2 separate regions of the Homo sapiens genome follow, and region 2 is linked to region 1. Evidence: promoter capture Hi-C in human tissues and cell types (Jung and others, 2019). All regions are on one chromosome and are shown on one strand. The core of a region is centred on a gene start or on the middle of the fragment in contact, and the rest is flanking DNA. Distances in the headings are between cores, read along the strand shown.

Region 1 (6,144 bases), core at 2,769-5,268:
AGGCTGGAGGTGCAGAGGTGGTTTTTATATTCATTTTACAGGTGAGAAACCTGAGGTTCAAGGAGGTGTGAGAACTAGAAAGTGGTAGAGCATGGATTGGACTCCAGGTTTCCTGACTCCCAGTCCCTGGGAGCTTGCTACTGAATCCCAGTTACCTCTCTCTGAGGCAACATTTTCCTCCACAAAAATCAACATTCTCTCATGTATTCAGTAAACATCCTGCTTGTTGACTTTAAGTCACCGCCCTGAAATATGCTGTATGTCATGCATTTAGTTAAGTCAAAAGGAATTAAACCCAGGCGCAGTGGCTCACGCCTGTAATCCCAACACTTCGAGAGGCTGAGGGAGAAGGATCACTTGAGCTCCGGAGTTCTAGACCAGCCTGGGCAACATAGGGAGACCTCATCTCTATAAAAAGTTTAAAAATTAGCCAGGCATGGTGGCAGGCACCTGTAGTCCCAGCTGCTTAGGGGGCTGAGGCAGGAGGATCGCTTAAAGCTAGAGAGTCAAGGCTGCAGTGAGCCACAATCACACCACTGCACTCCAGCCTGGATGATAGAATGAGACCCAGTCTCTAAAAGCCAAAAAAAAAAAAAAGGAATCAAAATTCTTTCTTTCTTTAAAAAAAAAAAAAACAACTCCAGCAGCCATAAAAAAGAATGAGTCCATGTCCTTTGCAGGGACATGGATGAAGCTGGAAGCCGTCATTCTCAGCAAACTGACACAGGAACAGAAAACCAGACACCACATGTTCTCACTCATAAGTGGGAGTTGAACAATGAGAACTCATGGACATAGGGAGGGGAACATCACACACCAGCGCCTGTCAGGGGGTGGGGGGCAAGAGGAGGGAGAGCATTAGGACAAATACCTAATCTATGTGGGGCTTAAAACCTAGATGATGGGTTGATGGGTGCAGCAAACCACCAGCGCACATGTATCCCTATGTAACAAACCTGCACATTCTGCACATGTATCCCAGAACTTAAAGTAAAATAATAATAATTTTTTAAAAAGATCTGAATAGGAAACATTTGTCATCTATTGTCTCTAAGGGTAGCCACTATAAGACTTCAAAAGAACATTGGTCTTTACAGTCTTTTATCTTAACCTGAACATTTCCTTTCTATGGATCCCAGGTCTTTAGGCAAATGCAACCAATTATCAACCAGAAAATATTTAAACTTACCTATAGCCTGGAAGCCCCTCACCACCACCGGCTTTGAGTTGTCCCACCTTTTAGGACCAAACCAATGTATTTCTTAAATGTATTTGATTGATGTCTCATACCTCCTTAAATTGTATAAAAACAAGCTGCACCCTGACCATCTTGAGCACATGTACTCAGGACCTCTTGAGGGCTGTGTCACAGACCATGGTCACTCATGTTTGTCTCAGAATAAATCTCTTCAAATACTAAAAAAAAAAAAAAAAAAAAAAACCTCCAGAATTTTACTTCATTCCTGGAAAGTCCCATAGATCTAGAGCTAGGAAGAAGAATTATGTTGAAAATCTTTCCTGGAGATGGGTCAAAGTATTTTTGTATAATTAGAAAAAGAAAAGGTGGGGGTAACATGAAGATATGAACTCTGTAATTGACAGTGCTTTCACCAGCACCCAAATGGTGTCCTTATAAATATCATGGCTATGTTCTTATAACTAAACGTGCATGATTCTTTCCTTCTCCACTTGGTTATTCACACCGAATCCTCTATTCGGGGTGTGGTATGCAGAATAATGTCCCCCGCCAAAGACGTCCACGTCCTAATTCCAGAGACATGTTACTTTTACGTGGCAAAGAGCAGAGACTTTGCAGGTGTGATTAAGTCAAAGAGCTCTACACAAGAGGTTATCCTGGATTATTCAGTGAGTCAATGTAATTATAAAGTAGAAGAGGGAGGCAGATGAAAGAAATGTGAGTAACTCAATGGGAGAAGGCCTCAACCTGCTTTAGCTGGCTCTGAAAATGGAAGAAAAAGGCCATAAGCCAAGGAACTCAGCAGCCTTCATGCGGTGGAAAGGGAAGGGAAATGCAGTCTCCCCTAGAGCCTCCCAAAAGGAACACAGCCCTGCCGACACCTTCATCTTAGCCCAGTGAGACCAGGGTCAGACTTCTGACCCACAGAACTCTCAGGTAATAAATGTGTGTTGTCTTAAGGCACTAAATTCACAGTAATTTGTTACAGTGGCCATAGAAAACTAATACCTGAGGCTTGACCATGGTGGCAGAAAATTCTGTGAACATCTGGTTCCTTCCTGACTGGTACTCCGCATCAATCATTAGTTGTTTTTGAATCTCACTCCCATTTACTAAATAGCAGCAATTTGATTCCCAAGAACAAAGAAAGAATCTGAATCTCCTAAAATGTTCCCATACTCATAATACCACTGAGTCCTTACAGTCCTGCTAGAAATAAAAATCCATAGCGAAGCTTAGCAATTTCTGGTTGCTAAAAGGAGATAATTTGGAACAGGGTGGAATCTCGCATTTATTAATGGGTTATCATTCATGATCAGGTTCGGACTCTAGGTAATGAAAGACCAGTAAAGCTTAGGGGGACATGGCCACCTGGTGCTGAATCTCTCCTTCCTCTTCCAGTCCCATCCCAGAGGGAGGCAGGTCAGGACTAGAGTAAGATTAACTTCCAGAAGAAAGGCTTTCCCTCAATTCCCGGCCTGGAGCAACCAGCCACCAGCTGAATCTAGCCCTGTGGACCCCGGTACCTCCTGCCTTAGCAGCAATGCTTTTGCCATTTCAAATCTGCCACTTCAAATACGGGGACTGAGTATTTGAGTCAGGAAAGAGTCCCTTGAGCTCCTTCTCAGCTTATCCAGAAAGATGCAGAAGGGGATAGACAATTGAAATCAGCCTGAGGCATGCAGCGTGGCTGGCCAAATGAGACTGCATACCCAGAAATGGCCTGGCACAGACTCTTTTTAGCAAGACTGAAGCTGCGCTTTTTGGAAATGAAGATACAATCTTATGTAAACCATATTAAGAGGTTGGTAGGCTGGGGCAGTGGAAAGAGACCTTGCTTGGGATTTCGGAGCCCTGAATTTTATTGTGGCCTCTGATACTGATTCACAGAGTCCCTTCAACTTGATATGCCTCAGTTTCCCTTCATGTGCTGTCAGGGGCTGTGTCAGACGACCTGCCCGCTTCGCTGCACTATGAGCTTTGCTCTGCTTCAGGAATCAATTGCTGACCAAAAAGAGAAATAGAATTGTTCGCCAAAGACCCAGAGTGTCTTGATCCTGGGGTATCCTACGGCTCCTCGGATCTCCTCCTGGTCTCACACCCGCATCCCTTACCTTCCAGTCTGAGGCAGCCTGAGGACTGTGGGAGGGGAGGAAAGATCACGCCCTGATATTGGATGGAGATGGAGAGATTCCAAGAGAACTAACAGCAGAGTCTCAGGAAGGGTTTGCTCACTGAATGGAGAGGTCAGGACTGGGACGGAGCTTAGCAGCAGCCGCTGGGCAGCAGCCCCTGCGCTCCCCAGCTGCCCTGTGCTCCTGGCCGAATCACAGGGGAGTGAGAGCTTCAGGAGACCCACATCTCTAGCCTGGACACATGAGTGATATTGGGCATCTCCCTCCCCTTCTCTGGACCTCAGTTTCCCCCACAGGATTCATCCGGGAGGGGCCTCTTTCCCCCGCACCACGGTCGGCCTGAGGCCGGGATGAAGCGCGCTTGGTGGATGCCCTGGGCTTCTCCTCGTTCGATGCTCACGCGTCCCTCCCGCCGCCCGCCTGTACCTGCACCGCGGGCGCGGCCAGGCTCGCTGGTCCCGGAAGCGGGCGCGCCGTCGGGAGCCGCAGGAGAGGGGCGGCGTCCAGGGCTGCCCCCGGGACCTCGGGTCTCCAGCCTCCGGAAGCCCGGGCGGGCCACGGGGTCGGGGGCGGCGGAGGGCAGCAGCAGCAGCGGCCAGAGCAGCAGGAGGAGTCCCGGGAGGCGGCGCGCGGGGGCCGGGCGCGGCATGGTGGGCTCCGTGGGCCTGGTGGTGTCCGTCGGGGGCCAGGAGCCCACGCGAGGCTCGGATTTAAAGGTCCCGCGGCCTCGGGCCCCGCCCCGCCCCGGGGCCTCGAGCGCCAGGCCGGCCCGGCGAACCCCGCCCAAGGCCAACAAGGAGCCTTGTCCGCGCATTCCAGCGGCAGAAACGGAATGTCTGGGCGAGGCGGCCAGCGGCGCGGTGGTCACCTCCCGCCCCTGCCCTAAGCCCCGAGCCGGCTGCAACTGGGTGGGCTCGGCTGCTGTCGCAACCTCCGTCCTCCCAGTAACACCGGGGCAGGGGGGGCAGCCATCCGCGGCTGCAGCCTGCCCGGCCCTCCACTCTCCCTCCCACCCCAGCGGGGCCTGCGCCCCAGGTACGGGATGGGGACCCCTGGGCTCTGCTTTCCCTTCTGCCACTGGTTTGCCCGACTGGGGCTGAAGATGAAACCCTGCTCCTAGCTCTACATTCCTTTCCTCAGCCAAGTAACCCAAGTTTTGCTGTGGGCTCTTGTTTAAAAAAAAAAAAAGAAAGAAAAGGCCTCACAGATTCTAGGGGCATGAATAGAAACGCTTTCATCCGAGCTTCAAATATCCACAAACATTTGAACTTATATTACCGGGAATAGAAAGTCAAACATACATTCCCCAGAGAGCCCCGTTAGCTGGAAGGACAGCCTGTACCAACACAGGCTTCAAAGGCTCTCCCGAGGCCCCATTTCCTCTCCGGAAGAGTTAGCATGGTACAGGGCTGGAGGCTGCCAGGGGACCCCCATGGAACTCACTGTCTGTGAGAAGGAGATTTGCATAAATGTGGTGTCTGTCTACGGGAATGTGGTGGATTTAGGAAAGAGATACTGACTGCCTGCGGAGACCAGGAAGACTTCTAAAACCAGGTGACATTTGAGCTGCGTCTTAAAACAATGGGCGCGAGTTCCAACAGAGCCTATCTGGTCGTCCTATTTCACTATTTTCCCTCTACAAGTGATCCTCCTCACACGATCCTAAACCTCACTTCTCATATTTGTACCCCATGCTGGTAGCAGCATTATACACAATAGCCAAGAGGCGGAAACAACCCAAGTGTCTCTCTTTGTGTGAATGGAAAAGCAAAATGCAGTATCTACGTACAATGGAATACTGTTCAGCCTTAAAAGGGAGGAAATTTTGGCAGATGCTACAAAATGGATGAACCTTGAGAGTATTATGTTAAGTGAAATAAGCTAGTCACAAAAAGACAAATACTGTATGATTCCATTTACATGGGGAATCTAGAGTAGTCAAATTCATAGAGACAGAAAGAATGGTGGTTAACAGGAGCTGAGGGGAAGTGGGGATGGGGAGTTGTATAATGTATCAATGACATTGGGCAGTGATAGTCACACTGAGGGAAAAGGTCACTCAACTCCCACTGAGAACTCACCAATTTAGAAGGACCTTAGAAGAAACGAGAAGTTTGTAATAATGGGAAGAGGACACTAAGAAGTTTGAAAGAAACTATGCCAAGAAGAGGAGGGATTGATAAATACAGTATTTGCAAGCTCTGGTGGACATTTGTCTTTCGTCTTGCTTTTAGAATGATCCCCAAAGCCTTTGAACCCTACATTAGTCAGGGTTCTTGAGAGAAACAAAACCAATAAATTTTATATACACATACATATAGAGAGAGGGTGGGGGGAGTAATTGAGATTATGAGGGATTGGTTCATGCGATTATGAAGGCTGAGAAGTCCCACAGTCTGCTGTCTGCAAGCTGGGGGCCCAGGAAAGCCAGTGGTGTAATCCAGTCCAAGCCTGAAGGCCCAAGAGCAGGAGAGCCAATGACATAAGGCCCAATCTGAGTCCAGAGACCCAAGAACCAGGAATGCTGATGTCCAAGGACAGGAGAAGCTGGTTGGCCCAGCTCCAGCAGAGAACACATTTGCCTTCCACTGTCTTTTTGCTCCATTCAAGCCCTCAACAGATTGGATGATGCCCACTCCACTCACATAGATGAAGGTGATCTTCTTTGCTCAGTCTACCGATTCAAATGCTAATCTCTTCCAGAAACATCCTCACAGACACACCCAGAAATAATATTTAATAGCTATCTGGGCATCCATTAGCCCAGTCAAGATGACACATTAAAATTCACCATCACAAATACCTTCCTAA
Region 2 (6,112 bases), core at 3,505-6,004, 120 kb after region 1:
TATTTTTTCATTTAATATATCATGGAGCTCATTCCATGTCACTATAGAGATATTTCATTCTTAGGTCGGGCATGGTGGCTCATGCCTGCAATCCTAGCACTTTGGGAGGCCAAGGCGGGTGAATTGTCTGAGATTAGGGGTTTGAGGCCAGCATGGGTAACACCATGAAACCCTGTCTCTATTAAAATACAAAAAAAAAAAAAATTAGCCGAGCATGGTGGTGCATGCCTATAGTCCCAGCTACTCGGGAGGCTGAGGCACAAGAATTGCTTGAACCTGGGAGGCAGAGGTTGCAGTGAGCTAAGATGCTAAGATCATGCCACTGCACTGCAGCCTGTATGACAGAGAAAGACTCTGTTTCCAAAAAAAAAAAAAAAAACAGACAGAGATTTCATTCTTGGTTAATGATACTATGACTTTATAGTATCACAGTGTTCCATTATAGGAATGTCCTGTACTTTGTTTAACCAATTGCCTATTAATGAATATTTATGCTTTTTCTAACTATCCACTACTAATACAAATAATTCTACAATAAATAATCTTGTGCATAAATTATTTTGAACAAGTGACATATATTTATAGGATAAATGCATATAAGCAGAATTATTAGAATAGAAGTGGGTCTAGAAAAGGTGCATTTAATTTTTTTTATTTTTAAACATTTTTAATTATTTTTTATCTTTGAAGAGATGGGGTTTCACTATGTTGCCCAGGCTGGTTTCAAACTCCTGGCCTCAAATGATCCACACCCCCTCAGCTTCCCAAGGTGCTGCGATTATATGCATGAGCTACTGCGCCTGGCCAAAGGTATATTTTAATTTTTAACTGCCCTCCATCTAACATTTAGTTCTCAAAAACACATGTCTCAGCTTTAGAAAGCTTTCTCTCATCTACCAGCAGTGACCTCTGCCATGGTGTAAAGACCCAGGCCAGCAGAAAAGGAGGAAGACAATACTTCATTTTAAAATGCTTTTATTTTCCTCATCTTTTAAATATAAATATAAATTTAATAAATTAAAATATTTACTATTTATATAAATTTAAATTTATTTAATATGTATGTCATATTGTATATAAAATATATATTACAGATTTACATAGTTTATTCATATTTAAGTTTTAGATAAATTTAAATTTGAATATAAAATTGGACAGGGGAGCATGTGGCCTGGGGCTTTGGACAGAGTGTATCTGAGAATGGAGCTCGCACCAGGGAAATGGGGCTGAAAAATGGAGGGTAGGAAACCTGGCCCAGGTTTCTTCGTTTGAGTCCTGGATAAACCCTTGCCTGAAGTCCATCCTGGGGTTGTTCAGGTTCATAAGCCAATACATACTGTTTTTGCTTAAGCCAGTGTGGGTTGGGTTTTTTGTCTCTTGCCCAGGGAGGAGCCCTGACTGCCCCACACAGCTGGTGGGCAGCAGGGCTGCACTCATTGCAGGGCTGACTAGCTCCAGGGTCCATGCACTGAACCTCAGCCAGTCCCAGCCAGTCCCCGCGGAAAAGGAATTTATTGATGTGAGACCTGAACAATCAGGAGGAGATAACCAGGCAGACCAGAAGGGAGAGAAGATGCCCAGACAGAGAAAGAGACAGGTGAAACGGGTGGCATTCAGAGAGCTACAGGTGGTTCAGAGTGGCTGGAGATTGAGTGAAGGGTGCAGGGTGTGCACACACCAGGTGCTGTGGTTTGCAATCTTGATCTTTCTGATGAAGTGACCAGAGTTTCGCCTCTGCTGTGATCACAGGTGTGATTGAAGAGTCGGTTGGCAGTGTGCCCTGTGCCTCCCCACTCAGGGTTCAGTCCTCTGACTCCCGCCTCCTGTCTCCCTCACCTGTTGGCCCCAAAAGGGAGTCACTGTTGGAGGCCTGACATCAGACATGCCCCCTGGGCCGCACCTCGGGCTCCTGGGACTGCCAAGGGTGAGCAGCCTCTCCCTGGCCCCGCGAGGGAGAAGGCCAATGAGGAGAAAGGCCACGGGCATGCTAGAACCCCTCATGTGTGTGTGTGTGTGTGTGTGTGTGTGTGTGTCGTTGGTGTGAGTGTGCATGAATAGCTGTGCACACATAGGAAGTCAATTGTCCTTTCCCAGTTGAGCCGTTGGGAACATTCCCCAGAATTTACTCTTCCTCCAAAATCATTACCTTATCTCAGGTGGCCCTTTGGAGCCTTTGGCACCATAGCTGGGTGAGGCAGGAAGAAAAAAAACAAGGGCAGGGGAGAAGAGGAATTTGCCCTCTGCTGTGTTTCAGCTCTCAGGCAGGCTATGCCTTCCCGCATTGCCACTAGCTGGGTCCAGGCCATGTCACCTTCTGCTGCACCTACAGCAGCTCCCCAATGTCAGTGTGCCCCAGCCACTTCCCACCAGACCATCTTCCACAGCACGGATCCCCCCAAAATACTGCTCCCCTCTTCCTCCTGTCTCACTTGGACTGCCTTGGCTAGGGCAAATTCTTTGCTGTGACTTGGAAGGCCCTGTGTATCCCCTGCCTATCTGTCCAGCCTCATCTGTCCCCACTCCACCTCTCCCACCCCAGGCCCCAGGCACATTGGCCACAGCCCTTCCCTGAAAGCACCAGGGCCTGAGTATTAATTCCTGTTGTTGCTGCAGCAAACTACCACAGACTTACAGGTTCGAAACAACGCAGATGTATTATATTACAGTTCTGGAGGTCAGGAGTCCAGACATGGGTCTTAAAGGATGAAAGTCAAGGTGCCAGCAGGGCTGCATTCCTTCTGGAGGTTCCAAGAAAGAATCCATTGCCTTGCCTTTCCCAGCTTCAAAAAGCCTCCCGATTCCTTGGTTCATGCCCCCTCCCTGCATCTGCAAAGCCACTGAGTAGCATCTTCCAATCTCTTTCTGACCTCTTCTCCCATCGTCACATCTCTCTCTGACACTGACCTCTCTCTCCGCCTCCCTCTTAGAAGGGCCCTGGTGATTACCCAGGACCTGCGCAGATAATCCAGGATATGCGCTCCATCTCGAGGTCCTTCATCACATCCACAGGCCGATTCTCGGGGTCTAGAGATTAGGGCTTGTACTTCTTCGAGGGTCATTCTCCTGCCTGCCACAGAGCACACCAAGCTTTCGCACATGCAGGCCTCTCTGTCACTGTCTACATTTACCCAGAGGGGACACCTTTGTCTAATTTGCAGAGGTACCATACATAGGTCAGTGGACTGCCTGCCTGAAACACCCCTTTCCTCACTTTCTCCACCTGGCCAAGAGCTTCTCATTCTTCAAGGCCCAGTTTAGTCCAGGACACTTTACCTTTCCCTGCTCTCCCCGAAGTCTCCCAGCTGGGTGAGTCACACCTCCTCTGGGCTCCTGCTCTATCCCGTACTTTCTGTATCCTGGCATAAACCACAGGACATTGATATTGTCTGTGAGTCTGCCTGGGTCAGATCGGAGCCAGGGCCCAGAAGCCCTCACCTGGGGCCCAGCTCTTCCCCAGCTAGGCAGCAGCCCCAGGCCCTGTCGTCTCTCTTCCCAGCACAGACACCTCCTCTGGAGTCTCCCAGTTCATGTCTCTTTGTCTCTCCTGTGTGCAGGCCTCACACGGAGCTGCGGGGCCTCTGTGAGGAAGACAGAAATGAAGGCGATGAGGGTGTTGAGTTTGAGGCATCCAAGCCACACGGAGGGAAGCTGGCATTTGAGAAGAGAGGGCTGGCGTGAAATTCCTACTCTCAGGAAGTGGCTGGGGGACTTTCAGAAGAGGAATATTTGAGGTTTTCAAGTTAAAGTGGCAGCCTAAACACACATCTAATTGCATTTTTCCCCAAATCTCACTAGAACAATAATAGAGAACTTTAAAAGGAAGACATAAAACCACAAAAATGAGGGAAACAGAAGAGGAGAAAACAGGAGCAAAACATGGGAAGCTGGCAGATGAGCATTCTCCGACGCAGATGGAGAAAGCCAGTTCCTAGGCCAGCAGTGGGGAGAGTTTAGAATCAAAACCATTTACAAGCAGGATGCTTAGAAGTCTCAGGAACTGACTCTAGAGGGAACCTCTCTAAGCTGGGTAAAGAAGGAAGTTGAAATAAGGATGGGTTGAAAGTTGTTTAAGAAGCAGTCAGATGCCTGGAAACCCTCCTGTCCCCTCCCCTTCCCCACTGGAAAATTACTGTGAGTGGTTACTGCCCAGAAGGCAGGAAGATTCTGGGTCATATGCCTATGGAGACCCCACCCCGGACTCTGACTCTAAACACCCAAAACACAAGGCAGCCTTCCTCTCAAAGCAGGAGTTAGAACAATCTTCTCTAAATAGTCTGGGCAACTCAAAAGGAAGACTAAATCCTGATATGGGGGGATCTCTGACAAACGACACATCCAGACCACTCCCCCATGAAGTCAAAGGTTGGCAAGCCCCACCCTAGAAGACAGGAAAAGTGAATATGCTGAGAATAAAAGTAAAACACTCTTGGAAATGAAAAACATGGCAGCCACAGTAGAAGGTGTATTATGTCATCCTCACATTGCTATAAAGAAATACCTGAGACTGGGGAATTTATAAGAAAAGAGGTTTAATTGGCTCATGGTTCTGCAGGCTGTACAGGAAGCAGAGCTCCAGGATCTGCTTCCGGGGAGGCCTCAGGAAGCTTCCAATCATGGAGAAAGGTGAAGTGGGAGCAGCCATGTCATATGGCCAGAGCAGGAGCAAGAGCGAGAAGGGGGAGGTGCCACACACTTTTAAACAACAAGGTCTCAGGAGAACTCACTCACTGTCATGAGGACAGCACCAAGAGGATGGTGCTAAACCATTCAGGAGAAATCCACCCCCATAATCTAGTCACCTCCCACCAGGCCCCACCTCCAACATTGGAGATTACAATTCAACATGAGATTTGGGCAGAGACACAGACCCAAACCACATCAGAGGGTATGCAAGATAAAGTTGAAGAAATCTCCTAGAAATCAGGAAGAAAAAAAAAAAAAACAAGAGATGGAAAGTAGGAGAGAAGATTTAAAATATTGGAGGCTTAGCCCAGGAGATCTAATATGGAAATAACAGAAATTACAGAGAAAAAAGAGCCAGGCAAGGGATGAAAACAGGCCCATGCCAAGCATATCTTTGTGAAATTTCAGGCAGCTGGGGACAATGGAATTCCACAAGCTTTCAGATGGGGCAGAAAACAGGTGACATGCAAAAGATGAGGACTCGGAATGATTCTGATAACTCATCAGCAGCGCTGGGACACAAGAAGACAGCAAAGGCAAACCCAAAATGCTGGAGGGACACGCTCTCCAAGCCGACTCCTCTATCCAGCCAAATACTAATTATGTATGAGGCTAAAGACACTTTTAGTCGTGCGATATTGCAAGAAAATTTCCTCCCATGCAACATTTCTCAAGAAGCTACTGGAGAATGTGCTCCTCCAAACTGAGAGTTAACAGAAGGGAAGACACAGGACATAGGAAACGGCACAGCCAGCATGGAGAGGAGGCAAGGAGCAGTCCGTAGGAGGGTAGTGCAGGAGGACAGCACTGCACAAGACAGGGAGGGCAGCTGGTCCCCGAGGGGGTGGCACAATGCCAGCAAGAGGTACATCGAGGGCTGTCGCAGCGTCACTGCCACCGGACAGTCTTTCCAACCTGAGGACAGGAGGCTCCGGTGAGCCTGGCCCCAGTTTTGATTTGCCCTTGCCTTGTCTTGACCATGTGCTGTGCAGTCTGTGCCCACCCCTCCTTGCCTGCTGCCACCCCCACCTCAGTGTGATCTGCCCTGCTCCTGAGAACTGGATGTGGGCCATAGTGAGCTTAGAAGGAAAAAACACCAAACAGCTCCCTCCTCTTGCCAGGTGTCCGGTATCTGGCTCACATCACAGCCCTGCCCGATGCCTTAGTTATAGGGAGCCTGTGTTTCCCTAGGCTCACTCATGGTCTTGTCCAGTGATGTCCCCAGAAAGGACTTTTGTAAACTGTTAGAAAAAAAATTAGCCAGACGTGGTGGCACACACCTATAATCCTAGCTACTCAGGAGGCTAAGGTGTGAGGATCGCTTGAACCCGGGAGGTAGAGGGTGCAGTGAGCCAAGATCGCAACACTGCACTCCAGCCTGGGTGACAGAGTGACACTCCATTGAAAAAAAAAAAAAAGACTTCTTAGA

The links. The method cuts DNA at HindIII sites, captures the fragments that hold promoters and counts their contacts. A contact is called where the count stands out against the background at its distance.
Region 2: a fragment that was not itself captured here is called in contact with the fragment with the promoter of MATN3 in region 1 in 2 of the 25 tissues and cell types used here (adrenal gland and mesenchymal stem cells).

Annotation. Positions count from the first base shown.
Region 1 is chr2:20,008,650-20,014,793 of GRCh38, forward strand. MATN3 (matrilin 3) reads right to left here and starts at 4,019. Exons shown (of 8, transcript NM_002381.5): 1 at 3,760-4,019. The coding sequence starts at 3,982. RefSeq lists an enhancer at 3,123-3,735. The HindIII fragment of the contact is 8,921 bases long and covers 188-6,144 here.
Region 2 is chr2:20,127,692-20,133,803 of GRCh38, forward strand. No RefSeq gene overlaps it. Among named protein-coding and RNA genes, the nearest start is that of LAPTM4A-DT, 79 kb to the left of the region's middle. The HindIII fragment of the contact is 5,540 bases long and covers 1,985-6,112 here.